Linked DNA regions of Homo sapiens: region 1 is linked to region 2. Evidence: promoter capture Hi-C in 16 types of primary human blood cells and fetal thymus (Javierre and others, 2016). All regions are on one chromosome and are shown on one strand. Each heading gives the region's core, a stretch centred on a gene start or on the middle of the fragment in contact. The rest is flanking DNA. Distances are from core to core; before and after follow the strand shown.

What was found. Contacts are between HindIII fragments. The CHiCAGO score rates a contact against its expected background, and 5 or more counts as called.
Region 1: a fragment that was not itself captured here is called in contact with the fragment with the promoter of NXN in region 2 in 1 of 17 cell types (M2 macrophages); the score reaches 5.7 in M2 macrophages.

The regions. Positions count from the first base shown.
Region 1 is chr17:556,744-560,629 of GRCh38, reverse strand. VPS53 (VPS53 subunit of GARP complex) reads left to right here. Exons shown (of 22, transcript NM_001128159.3): 15 at 57-204. Among named protein-coding and RNA genes, the nearest start is that of VPS53-AS1, 36 kb to the right of the region's middle. RefSeq lists an enhancer at 1-629. The HindIII fragment of the contact is 3,534 bases long and covers 527-3,886 here.
Region 2 is chr17:977,450-981,432 of GRCh38, reverse strand. NXN (nucleoredoxin) reads left to right here and starts at 1,657. Exons shown (of 8, transcript NM_022463.5): 1 at 1,657-2,114. The coding sequence starts at 1,755. RefSeq lists enhancers at 90-384, 1,809-2,744. The HindIII fragment of the contact is 5,276 bases long and covers 53-3,983 here.

The DNA.
Region 1 (3,886 bases), core at 1,044-3,543, 420 kb after region 2:
GTTCAGGAAGCAAATTAGAAATTCCATGCTGACTTGTTCCTGTTCCTTTTCTTCAGAACCACAACCAGCAGTGGAGGACTGACTATCAGCAGCCTCCTCAAGGAAAAGGAGGGCTCAGAAGTAGCCAAGTTCACTCTGGAGGAGCTCTGCCTCATCTGTAACATCCTGAGCACGGCAGAGTACTGTCTGGCCACCACCCAGCAGGTGAGCCATCCTGGCTGCCCACTCACCACCTCCTTTTCCTGAACCCTCTGGGCTGCGTCGCTCGGCGAGTAAGAATATACGTCCTAACATGGCCACAGACAACCTTGGGTCAGACCAGTTGGCCTGCCACAGAGGAAAGCTCAGTGTCCAGCCATAAGGCTGCCCAGGCAGCTGTCTTACAGAAAGGCCTTGTTAAAAGAAGACTGGGCAAGAAAGTATGACTGGTCACCTCCCTGGAGTTGTGTAAGCTCCTCAAAGGGCATGACCTGTTAAAAGTAGGTCAGTAGCACTCCAACCCATATGAGAAAAGCAGTAACAAGCTTGTCTGTGCTAGGACCCAGCCTTTGGTGATGATGAGTCACAGCCAGTTATTCCATGCTCAGAAGTGTTACTAAGTTAAGCAGAATCCTTTGGGCTTTTATGTGTCTTCTGAAATTTACATGGCATTTTCAATCTGCCTCAACAAATAGCCATTGTTTGGGATGCTGACGTTTAGGAACTGGGGGACAGGAAAGGGTGATGCCTCTGCTGGAGGCCCCCACATGGCCATAGTTCAGCAACTGATGGAGCAGAAGGAAGACCCAGAATAACCTTTGATTCAGCCTTAAACATGGAATTAGAAGTCCTTTTCACACTTGGTCTGGGATTCCCCTGAGGCCAAGAGAAAGAAAGTAATTTGGAAAGGTTCTGCTCTTCTACCCACTTTGTATTTATAATTTACAGATGCCTAGACCACAAGAAGACAGTCATAAATGATAGTTCAGACAGCCCAGCTTGGAGCTCCTGTGTGCCAGGGCAGCAATATAGCAGGTCAAATAGGAAGTGTGTCTACCAAGGCCCCTCAGTGGCACATAAGCCAGCCAGAGGCAGAGGCAGCAGCACACTCTGCCTGGGGACCTGGTCATGTTGAGTTGCGAAGGTCATGACCTTCCAGGGTTTGGCCTTGGAGCCACAGAGCAGTCCGTTTAGCCCCAGGCCACTCCCCAGGTAAGATGGCACTATCTGTAAGGACCTCCAAGGCAGGGGTTCCAGAGTTCTTTCATGAAGAAACACTGTTTAACTATTTTGGGTGTGCACAGAAAGAAATACGATACATGTAAATATGCTATTTTAAAGGTAAAATAACCGTAGTATTTAAAAAAATAAAGATCCCTTTTAATCCCATCATCCTCAAATAATCATATTAGCAATTTGGGGTATTTTTTCAATTGTTATTCATAGACATAGTTTTGAATGTTACAATCTTAATTCACTGTTATATCCTTTTATTGTTAGTGTCATACATAGCATTAGCATTTCTCCTGTCATTATAATGATAGTAATAATCATAACTATCATTACAGGGTCATTATTACTATCATTGTTTATGGCCACATAATATTTCTCTTTAAGGGACTATACCATAAATTATTTATTTATTTATTTATTTTGAGACAGAGTCTTGCTCTGTCTTCCAGGCTGGAGTGCAGTGGCCATGATCTTGGCTCATTGCAGCCTCCACCTCCCAGGTTCAAGCAATTCTTCTGCCTCAGCCTCCTGAGTAGCTGGGATTATAGATGCCCATCACCATCCCCGGCTAATTTTTGTATTTTTTTTTTTTTTTTAGTAGAGATGGGGTTTCACCATCTTGGCCAGGCTGATCTCCAACTCTTGACCTTGTGATCCACCTGCCTTGGCCTCCCAAAGTGCTGGGATTACAGGTGTGAGCCCCTGTGCCCGGCCTTGTACCATAACTTATTTAGCAAGCATCCCTGATCGTTGTTTATAGTGCTTCAAATTTTGCTTTTTTTTTGAAACAGAGTCTCTCTCTGTCACCCAGGCTGGAGTGCAGTGGCACGATCTCGGCTCACTGCAAGCTCCCCCTGCCGGGTTCTCGCCATTCTCCTGCCTCAGCCTCGCGAGTAGCTGGGACTACGGGTTCCCATCACCACGCCTGGCTAATTTTTTTTTATTTTTAGTAGAGGCCGGGTTTCACTGTGTTAGCCAGGATAGTCTCGATCTCCTGATCTTGTGATCTGCCCGTCTTGGCCTCCCAAAGTGCTGGGATTACAGACGTGAGCCACTGTGAGTAGCTGGGACTACAGGCACCCGCTACCACACACAGCTAATTTTTTGTATTTTTAGTAGAGACGGGGTTTCACTGTGTTAGCCAGGATGGTCTCAATCTCCTGACCTCGTGATCCACTCACCTTGGCCTTCCAAAGTGCTGGGATTATAGGCGTGAGCCACCATGCCCAGCCAAAATTTTGCTTTTATAGATAATCCTGGCAGGGTACAGTGGCTCACGCCTGTAATCCTAGCATATTGGGAAGCCAAGGTGGAAGGATCGCTTGAGGCCAATAGTCCAAGACCAGCCTGGGTAACATAGTGAGACCTGGTCTTTACAAAAAATTTAAAAGTTAGTTGAGTGTGGTGGTACATGCCTGTGGTCTCAGCTACTTGGGAAGCTGAGGTTGGAGGATCGCTTGAGCCTGGGAGGTCAAAGCTGCAGTGAGCTATGATCACACCACTGCACTCCAGCCTGGGTGACAGAGTGAGACCCTGTCTCTAAAAAAAAAAAAAAAAAAAAAGATAATCCTTACAAAGAATGTCTTTCTGAATATAGCATCTTAAATGTTTTGCATTAGTTTTCTAGAACAGACTCTTAGAAGTTCTAGAAATAAGTTGAAGACCATTTTGATGACTGATGATACAAGTGGCCAATTATTTTTTATTTAGTGAAAATTGTTTTTATTGATTACAAAAGTAATACATTCTTAGCACCTTTATTGTGATCTCTAAATACAATTTTCCACTAAAAGAAACCAGAGATTCCTGGAGAAATGACTAATTCCAGGTCAAGGGCAGGAAATCTACAAGATGAATCAGAACATCATGTTACACAAAAAGCAAGAAAAATATCAAAGACTATTAGTGTCATCTCAAGAGGACCCAGGGAGATATAGTGGGTTGAAGTGTCCCCCCAACCCCAAAATATGTCCAAGTCCTAGGCCTTGGGACATGTAAATGTGACTTTATCTTGGTAAATGTAATTAAGTATCTCAAGATGAGATGGTCCTGGATTTAGGATTGGTGGGGGGCCTTATCTAATGACTGTTGTCCTTAGAAAGGAGAGAGAGATTGAACACACAGAGATACAGGGAAGAAGGCCGTGAGAAGGAGGCAGAGGCTGGAGTCAGACTTCTATGAGCCAAGGAACATCAAGGATTGCCAGCAAACACCCAAAGCTAGAAGAGAGGTGTAAATAGTTTTTTCCTCAGAGCTTCCAGAAGAGTGGGGGCGCGGTGGCTCATGCCTATAATCCCAGCACTTTGGGAGGCTGAGGAGGGTGGATCACTTGAGGTCAGGAGTTTAAGACCAGTCTCGTCAACATGGCAAAACCCCGTCTCTACTAAAAGAATACAAAAATTAGCCGGGTGTGGTGGCTTCTCACTTGGCAGTCTCATTCCCCAAGCCTCAGGTCCCCGCTTCAGTATCACCTCCTCAGAGAGCCCCTCCTGGCCACCCCCCTTCAGCAGAGAGGCCCTCCTGGCCACCCCCCTTCAGTAGGTAGCTCCCTTATTCCAGCACTGCCAAATTTATTTCCTAACACCACAAAACCGAAGTTACGTCTCGGCTGGCTTACTTCCTTATTATCTGGCGCCCCCATTAGTTTTAAGTTACATGCCAGAAAGTCTACTTT
Region 2 (3,983 bases), core at 408-2,907:
TAGAAAAACGGAGAACCTTCGATGTGAACACTTACGTTTTGTGCCAAAAGCTTGAAGTTCTATTCTGAGGTTTAAATTAGCTCCCGCAAAGCGTCCTATCATTTGTGTATGTGGAAAGCTGCTGTAAAATAAAAGCATTGTGCCTGGTGTCCCGGCAGTGTCTTTTCACAAATGGAGTTTGGTCGGCCTCATTTTTCACTCTTTCCATTAGGTGGCGATGGATGCACAGGAAATATCCTCCGAAGCGGCGGTGGAAGCTCTGAGAGGGGCGGGTTTTCAGCTTTTATTTTTTTGCTTTCGCTGAGTCGTCAGTAGCTGATCCACACCGGCGGCCTGTTACTGTGGCTGGGCCCGGATCTGCACCTGCTTCGTGCACCAGTGGGTTGGGTTGGGGGGAGGCGCTGCGTGGCCAGAGTACTCGCCACGGACCACCTGTTTTTTTGTTTTTTTTGAGACGGAGTCTTGCTCTGTTGCCCAGGCTGGAGTGCAATGGAGCGATCTCGGCTCACTGCAGCCTCCGTCTCCCGGCTTCACGCCATTCTCCTACCTCAGCCTCCTGAGTTGCTCGGATTACAGGTGCCTGCCACTACACCCCGCTAATTTTTGTATTTTTAGTAGAGGCGGGGGGGGGGTGTCACCATATTGGCCAGGCTGGTCTCGAACTCCTGACCTTGTGATCCACCCACCTCGGCCTCCCAAAGTGCTGGGAATTCAGGCGTGAGCCACCGCGCCCGGCCCAGACCACCTGTTTAATCCAGCTTCTCCCTAAGCATTGGGGAGCATCCTGCCAGCTGGTAGGAAAAAAAAAATCTCTAGAAATGTTCTCAACTATCCATAGACTTGACATGAGGATGGAGCGGATTCAGGAGCGCGGCCAGCATTGGTCTGGAGGCCCCGCGGCGTCCTTTGCATCCATTTGTGGGGCTGGAAGACAGATTCGCTGGGGGGAGAGGCCCCGGCGACCCCTGGACGGAAATCCCACACTGAGACCTGGCACCCTAACCAGACCCCACCAGAAGCTGCGAGGGCGTCCTCGGCCCCCTTAGAACAGCTTGGAACACACAGAGGAGTCAGTGTCCAGCCAGGCCCGGCCTGATGCAGTGAGGACGGCGGGTCCTATAAGCATCTCAGGGTCAGTGGGGCCCGGAGCGGCCTAAGGGTCAGGCTTCGTGCAGGGAGAGGAGGAGGGAAAGGCCGGGGAGGAACAGGAAGAGGGTGAAGAGCTCCGCGGGGAGGGGGCGGGATCCCTGGAGGTCTGGAGGGAATTTAGAACTGGGGAGGAGAGAAAATGCGGGCCGGGCTGCAGCCCGGGAAAGCGCCGGCTCAGCGGGCCCTTCTCCTTTCTTCACTTCGGCCGTGGGCTTTCCAGGGAGAGTGCGGCGTTTCGGGTCCGGCTTCTCGCCCAAGCAGTCACCCCGCGCACCGCGGCCGGCAGCTGCGGACCCCGCCTGGGCGGAGAGCTCTGGCCACCGCCGGCCGCAAACGGGGCGTGGCGAGGGCGGAGGGGGCGTGGCGAGGGCGGGCGGAGGGGCGTGGCGAGGGCAGCCGAAGGGGCGTGGCGCGGGCCGCGGAGGGGGCGTGGCAGGGCGGGGGAAGGGGCGTGGCGCGGGCAGGCGGAGGGGGCGTGGCGTGGGCGGCCCTACTGGGCCGGGCTCTGCTCTCCCCAGCGCCTGCCGCCGACGCCGCCGCCTCCTCCCGCCGCGCGGACCGTGGAGCGGGGTCGCAGCCGCCTGCCCGCCCTGCGGTGGGCCAGGATGTCGGGCTTCCTGGAGGAGCTGCTCGGCGAGAAGCTGGTGACGGGCGGCGGCGAGGAGGTGGACGTGCACTCGCTGGGCGCCCGCGGCATCTCGCTGCTGGGTCTCTACTTCGGCTGCAGCCTCAGCGCCCCCTGCGCGCAGCTCAGCGCCAGCCTGGCCGCCTTCTACGGGCGCCTGCGGGGGGACGCGGCGGCCGGGCCGGGGCCGGGAGCGGGGGCCGGGGCGGCGGCGGAGCCCGAGCCGCGGCGGCGCCTGGAGATCGTCTTCGTGTCCTCGGACCAGGACCAGCGGCAGTGGCAGGACTTCGTGCGGGACATGCCGTGGCTGGCGCTGCCCTACAAGGAGAAGCACAGGAAGGTGAGCGGCGCGGGCCTCGCCGGCCCCTGCCCGCCCCCCACGCCCGTTACCCCTGCCCGCCCCCCACGCCCGTTACCCCTGCCCTCCGCCAACCCCGTTGTCCCCCTGCCCGCCCTCCACCCCCCGACCCCTGCCCCCAGTCCCCCGCCCCCCGACCCACTGTCCTCTCCCCGCCCCCCACCCCGCCGTCCCCGCCTCTGCCCCCCCCCCTTCCGCGCTGTGCCCGCACCCTCATCCCAGGACCCCTCTTTGGTTCGAGTGCTGCGCTGCGCCCGCCCTGGAAAGTTGGACCCCCCTCGGCCCCCGGGATCCCGGCTCGAGCCCCTCCGTCCGCACACGCTGGGAGCCTCGGGTGGGGGCGGCTGCGCTCGGGGATCCCGGTTCCGCGACCCCTTCACCCGCGAGCAGAGGCGCCAGGCCCTTCCTGCCTCCGCCGCCGACCCCCGCGGATTCCCACAGTGGGGAGGGGAGGGGAGGGGAGGGCGCACGCCCCCCGCCCGTGGCGCCCAAACCAGCGCGTTTCCTTTCTTTCCGGGAGAAACCTGCCTTCCCGGAGCCCCTTCCCCGGGGACCGGGGACCTGGGGGCCGAGGCCGAGGTCAGGAGAGGCGGCCGGTGACCGTGGCCGTGGCTGTGGCCGAGAAGGGCGCTCACGGCTCCGTCTCCCGCCCCCGCCTCCCCCGCCCCAGGCTGAGTTCGCGGCCACCGGGGAGCTTTGCATTGTCTGGCCGTCCAGCCTCCTCCCCAGACGCCTCCCGGGCGCGGGAACAGCCCGGGCTGTGCAGAGCTCAGCTGCGTGGTGGCCCCTGTGGTCCCGGGGTCTTCGAGTTAAGGGCTGAGCTGACCCCATCGATGCACATTGACTGGAAGAAGGAGGATTTGGGGAAATGGATACTTTGCTGTCAACTTCTCGTGTCTCCCAGTTTGCTGCCGAGTTGAGTTTGGGTTTCTGAGTGTGTCCCTTGGGTGAGGATGTCTGTCTCTGTGATAATAAAGCACATCCAGGACATTTTGTAATGAATGGAGTCAGAAAAAGTTTTGGAGCGCTGTTGCTTCGTGAGTGTATATGATGCAACGTGTGAATCCAGCCCCTTTCCCTTTTTGAGGAAAGCCTGTTTCTGGAGTGGACAGAAGGGCTATTCTGGGGGCGTTTAGTTTCCTCTGGGGAGCATGGCGAGGCGTGCCACGTGTTCCTTTTATATGTGCAGAATCTTGTTGAGAAGCATGATTTAGATTTACTGGGAGCAAAAGGCTTACACTGTGACCCCAAATGTCTTGAGTAAATCATCCATCCCGAAGCAGTGGGAGGTAGAGATTCGAGATTTAAAGTATGAAATACAGTTGATCCGATGCAGTTTGTAAATTTCATATTGGGAAAACATAGGTTCACTAACCACTCAGAGGCAAGAGTTGGCATTTTTACTGCTTTTTAGGTTATTTTGCCCATTTTGATTGACATGCTTGATATAGTATGAATATGCATGGCCAGTACTTTTTGATTCAAAATACGAGAATCCTTTGTTTTCCTTGGTGGTGGTTTTTGTGATACGTTCGTGGAGAAATAATGTTCAGAAAGGGATTTGCCAAAAAACATTTTCATTGTTACGGCAAGTTTCTGTTGTAGACTAAAGTCTACTTAAAATAATGTCCTTATCCGGCAATACAAATGATTTCTAGCTTTTGAAAACATAGAATTATGGTAAAATGTTACAGGCTTAACAGCCTATTGTTGTGTTTTTTACTGAAGAGGAAATACATTTTTTGGATAGTAAAAATATGGAGCAAACAGATGTTTTGCAAATGCTTAGAGCTTTTTCCGAAAAAGGAGAATATTTGATAGGACATGGGCCATGGCTGGCTCTCTATACCC